2 separate regions of the Homo sapiens genome follow, and region 2 is linked to region 1. The links are contacts of gene promoters, found by promoter capture Hi-C in blood cells and fetal thymus (Javierre and others, 2016). All regions are on one chromosome and are shown on one strand. Each heading gives the region's core, a stretch centred on a gene start or on the middle of the fragment in contact. The rest is flanking DNA. Distances are from core to core; before and after follow the strand shown. Region 1 holds the start of CPNE1 (copine 1). Region 2 overlaps PHF20 (PHD finger protein 20).

Region 1 (2,700 bases), core at 20-2,519:
GCAATTCTCAGCATGACACCACGCAGATGAGTAAATGTTTAGCACTTAATACTGAGTAACCCTCACAAGAGCCCCTCAGATTTGTCACTATAAAGCACACGTTGGAGGCACACAAAAAGCCCGTACGTTTACAACCTAGCAGCTAAGCCTGCTGCACTGGCGTCCAACCCCGTCACTAACCTGTAGATCCTCAAAGTCCCTCCCACCACCCAATTCACGTGGCTGCAAACTAATGCAGCCAAGCTTCAGAGAAACTCAATTAACTCTCCATCAAAAGCACCCACCCTCCGCAGCCCACTGGATCTCGTCCTCCTGAAATGCCACAGGATCCTCTCCCGAGGGAGCCGTAAATGTGCTGCTCACAGCAGCCCCTTCCCTACTGGGGGACCAAAGGCCTGGCATCTTACTACAATTCTCAGAGCCTCAGGAGGCGTACTCACCCCACCCCCTCACCTCCTAGCTTCAGACGCCGGCTTCTCAAAACTGCTACACCCTCGAGTAAAGCCCCTCCCCAGCAATGGACCTCGGAGGCATTTCACTGCAAACCCCTCCACCTTCAGGCCACGAAGGCGGCCGGTTGTGACACTTCCTTTCTGAACTCACAGGAGTGTACCGACTACAGCTTCCTCCCCACAGGTGTGACCTGGGTCCCCTTTTGCTGGTAGGCCACAAAGGCCTCCTTTCCATTTCGGGTTGAAGGAGTGTCCTCACTACGATTATCTCCCCACCTCCAGGCACAGAGATGTAGTTATAACCTCTGCTTCACTGGGGGAGACAAGAAATCCTCCGTACTCGGGATGTAGGCGTGTTTTTACTGCAGTCCCCGTTAGCTCGCAGGCCGCTGAGCCAGCCAGCTCTGGCCTGCCCCCTCTCAGACCACGGGGGAGTCCTCGCTATGGCCTCGTCCCCACTTCGGTACGCAGGCTCATCCTCTTGCGTCCTCCTTGCATCCTCTCAGATCTCAGAGGCCTAAGTGGCATCCCACTCCCCCTGCAGCCCTGCCTCGACCCTTTGTGTGGGGCGCTAGTTGCCGCGGGCTCGAAGGCCTCCGAAGGCCCCGCCCCGGGCCACCAAGGGGCACCACGAGCCCCGCACAGCCCCACCCGTTCAGGGGCTGCGGGAGTCTTACCGGGGAAAGCTGCGCGGCACCAGAACCCAGACCCCGAATTACCCCCCGCGCGAGTGCCTCCGCCCCGCGGCCGACAGCCCCAGCCCGAACGGCTTCCCGGAGCCCAACGCAGCCACCACCTCCTTCGCCGCTTCACAAAATGGCCGTCGGCCCGCTCAGCGGCTCCGCGTTCCAGAAGGGGGAGGAACGGCGTGGTTGACGTCAAGGGGCCGCGCAAGCGCGCTGACGGTCTCGGGCGATCTCCCGGAAGTTACTGGGTTTTGTGCTAAGAGGGGGATATTCAGTCCCTGCTTGCGACTGTTGGCGCACAGGACCGACCTTGGGCTAGTGGCCCTGGCGGGTGGGCTGGGTATGAGTGTCTAGCTTGGCCCTTCACTGCAAGACTGTGCAAATTGCTTCACGTCTTCCAGTTTCCGCGGAAGGAGCGAATTGTGCTTACCTCTAAGTTTTTTGAGGATTAAATGGACCACAACGTGGTGGCTAGTTATTATATCCTGACAAAACAGCCAAAACCTGATTCTTTTTTCCCATTTAAGAGTTTATACAGGCCGGGGGCCGGGCGCGGTGGCTCACGCCTGTAATCCCAGCACTTTGGGAGGCCGAGGCGGGCGGATCACGAGGTCGGGAGATCGAGACCATCCTGGCTAACACGGTGAAACCCCGTCTCTTCTAAAAAATACAAAAAATTAGCCGGGCGTGGTGGCGGGCACCTGTAGTCCCAGCTACTCGGGAGGCTGAGGCAGGAGAATAGCGTGAACCTGGGAGGCGGAGCTTGCAGTGAGCCGAGATTGCGCCACTGCACTCCGGCCTGGGCGAAAGAGCAAGACTCCATCTCAAAAAAAAAAAAAAAAAAAAAAAAAGTTTATACAGGCCGAGCGCGGTGGCTCACGCCTATAATCCCAGCACTTTGGGAGTCCGAGAAGGGCGGATCATGAGGTCAGGAGTTCGAGACCGGTCTGGCCAACAAGGCAAAACCCAGCCTCTACTAAAAATACAAAAACTAGCTGGGTGTGGTGGCGGTGCTTGTGGTCCCAGCTACTTGGGAGGCTGAGGCAGGAGAATCGCTTGAACCCGGGAGGTGGAGGTTGCAGTGAGCCCAGATGGCGCCATTGCACTCCACCCTGGATGACAAAAGCGAAACTTCGTCTCAGAAAAAAAAACAAAAAAAGAGTTTTAATCTAGGGCAGGGCGCAGTGGCTCACGCCTGTAATCCCAGCATTTTGGGAAGCCGAGGCGGGCGGATTACCTGAGGTCAGGGGTTCAAGACCAGCATGGCCAACATGGCGAAACCTCGTCTCTACTAAAAATACAAACATTAGCTGGGCGTGCTGGCTGGCGCCTGTGGTCCCAGCTACCAGGGTGGCTGAGGCAGGAGAATCGCCTGAATCCGGGAGGTGGCGGTTACAGTGAGCCAAGATAACGCCATAGCACTCCAGCCTAGGCGACAGAGCAAGATTCCGTCTCAAAAAAAAAAAAAAAATTAAATCCATCGTGACCCCTCCACGGCTTCACTATAGTATTATTTTATTATAGAAAAAGCTATTCTCTGGCTGGGCGTGGTGGCTTACGCC
Region 2 (2,700 bases), core at 18-2,517, 280 kb after region 1:
ATTTTTATTTTATTTTATTTTTTTAAGACGGAGTCTTGCTCTTTCTCGCCCAGGCTGGAGTACAGTGGCATGATCTCGGCTTACTGAAGCCTCTGCCTCCCAGGTTTAAGCGACTCTTCCTTCCTCAGCCTCCCAAGTAGCAGGCAGATGCCTGCCACCACACCTGGCTGATTTTGTATTTTTAATAGAGATGGGGTTTCACCATGTTGGCCAGGCTTGTCTTGAATTTCTGACCTCAGGTGATCCACCTCCCTTGACCTCCCAAGGTGTTGGGATTACAGGCGTGCACGTCCGGCCTCTCCATTTATTCTTCTGCCTGTTTGCTGAACAGTCCCCTGTCTCCTTCTAGTTTTTTTTAAAGACTTACTGGTGTTTTGAAACTGGTCACTATCCAGTTTTCTTGCTCAGCAGGCCACTAGTTCCTCTCACATGACTGATCTTTTACTAATGGTTTTCAAGCTTAAGTCTGAGGAGGTGGTCTTATTTTTCTTATTTCCAAGTCCTTGTACTTGCTGGAATTAGGAAGAGAGAGGGTTCCTCCTTCTTGGAACCCCCAAATACCAACAAGAAATATGATGGAGGAGGATAAACTACATAGGGCCCAGAGCAATGGGTAGGGCGCTTTGCTGGACCACACATTCCTTCTCTCGCTGTGTTTGTTGCAGGCTTGCCACATTTCAGACACAGGTGAGTGTTAGGGATATAGTGGCAAGCAAGGCAGACTCAGCCTTTGCCCTCGTGGAACTTGATCTAGTGGGAGAGACATATATTAAACAAATCATCCCATTACCTGTAATGACAAACCATAGTAAATGCTCAAAGGAGAACATGTGATATCATAGCACCTGTAACACAAGGACCAGATTCAGGGTATAGGGTTGGGGAAGGCTTCCCTAAAGAATAGCTCACAAGAAACAGAGGATTTAGAAAGGTGGAGAGGAAGGTAGGGCTGCATCTGAGGACAGGAGAGGATTGCGCAGTAGGTTGCAGGCTGCTTGATGAAGAGGTACTGGGTGGGCCTTTCTTTTGCTGCACTCCAGGGTCCAGAAGGTGCTCAGTACAGGTTGGTGCATGGACTAGAAAGGCTACAGGCAGGCTGGGATAGCACAGGGGCTACCTGCAGGGGGTGGTTCTTGTCAAAGGTGCAGGGTTCCCAGATGGTCTCTCCCCAAATGCCAGAGCTTTAGGGGGTAGCTTAGGGAAGAACAAACATCTTTCTGTAGAGAAATACTTGTTCTCACAAGCAAGACAGCTTTCTAGATATTGAACCAATGATGATAATGTTAATTAATACCTGAAATCTTACATTAAATATTTAAAGGGGTCCTGCATGGTGGTTCATGCCTGTAATCCTAGCACTTTCAAAGTGGCCAAGGCAGGTGGATCACCTGAGGTCAGGAGTTCGAGGCCAGCCTGGCCAACATGATGAAACCCCATCTCTACTAAAAATAACAAAAATTAGCCAGGCGTGGTGGTGTGTGCCTGTAATACCATCTCCTCAGGAGGCTGAGGCAGGAGAATCGCCTGTACCCGGGAGGCGGAGGTTGCAGTGAGTCGAGATCATTGCCATTGTACTCCAGCCCAGGCAACAAGAGCGAAACTCTGTCTCAAAAGAAAAAAAAAGGCCAGGCCCAGTGGCTCATGCCTGTAATCCTAGCAGTTTGGGAGGCCGAGGTGGGTGGATCACCTGAGGTCAGGAGTTTGAGACCAAAATACAAAAATTCGCCGGGCGTGGTGGCACATGCCTGTAATCCCAGCTACTTTGGAGGCTGAGGCAGGAGAATCGCTTGAACCTAGGAGGCAGAGATTACAGTGAGCTGAGATGGCGCCACTGCACTCCAGCCTGGGCGACACAGTGAGACTCCATCTCAAAAAAATAAATAAATAAGTAAATAAATAAAGGGAGAAAATAATAACAGAGTATTCTGTGCCACTGATGATTGCGTATCAATCAGGAATTAATATGAAGCAAATCAGAGTTTATGATATACAAATAGACCTTTTCAAGACCCTATAGATTTTCATTTTTCTTGACAGGATGCTAAAACACCAGGCTCTCTGATTTTCAACATGGGAAAGCTTTTTATTTTTTATTTTATTTTATTTTATTTTATTTTATTTATTTTATTTTATTTTATTTTATTATTTTATTTATTTTATTTTTTGAGATGGAGTCTCGCTTTGTCGCCAGGCTGGAGTGCAGTGGCACGATCTCGGCTCACTGCGACCTCCGCCTCCCGGGTTCAAGCAATTCTCCTGCCTCAGCTTCCTGAGTAGCTGGGACTACAGACGGGCACCACCATGCCTGGCTAATTTTTGTATTTTTAGTGGAGATGGGGTTTCACCATGTTGGCCAGGATGGTCTTGATCTCTTGACCTTGTGATCTGCCCGCCTCGACCTCCCAAAGTGCTGGGATTATAGGCATGTGCCACCGCGCCCGGCTGGGAAAGCTTTTTAAAGAGTGAGTGGTAACACTCAGAAAGGTGCTTCCTTCCAAGACTTCTAGACTCTGGTAACAGTAGCCTCTGGCAATGTGTGGCTGTTTAACCAAAACTGAATAAAATTTAAAATTCAGTTCCTCAGTTGCATTAGCCATGTTTCCAGCGCTCAATAGCTGCATAAGGCTAGTGGCTACTGTATTGGATGACACAGACTTGGACCATTGATCATCGCAGAAAGTTCTTTTGGACTGTGCTGCT

Evidence for each region. Contacts are between HindIII fragments. The CHiCAGO score rates a contact against its expected background, and 5 or more counts as called.
Region 2: a contact is called between a fragment that was not itself captured here and the fragment with the promoter of CPNE1 in region 1, in 1 of 17 cell types (endothelial precursors). The highest score is 5.3, in endothelial precursors.

What each region holds. Positions count from the first base shown.
Region 1 is chr20:35,663,631-35,666,330 of GRCh38, forward strand. CPNE1 (copine 1) reads right to left here and starts at 1,270. Exons shown (of 16, transcript NM_152925.3): 1 at 1,130-1,270. RBM12 (RNA binding motif protein 12) reads right to left here and starts at 1,270. Exons shown (of 3, transcript NM_006047.6): 1 at 1,130-1,270. RefSeq lists enhancers at 1-98, 93-598, 439-488, 809-918, 1,103-1,607 and 1 more and a silencer at 837-1,131. The HindIII fragment of the contact is 6,109 bases long and covers 242-2,700 here.
Region 2 is chr20:35,944,564-35,947,263 of GRCh38, forward strand. The region is part of intron 17 of PHF20 (PHD finger protein 20); the gene reads left to right. Among named protein-coding and RNA genes, the nearest start is that of SCAND1, 8.6 kb to the right of the region's middle. The HindIII fragment of the contact is 1,620 bases long and covers 458-2,077 here.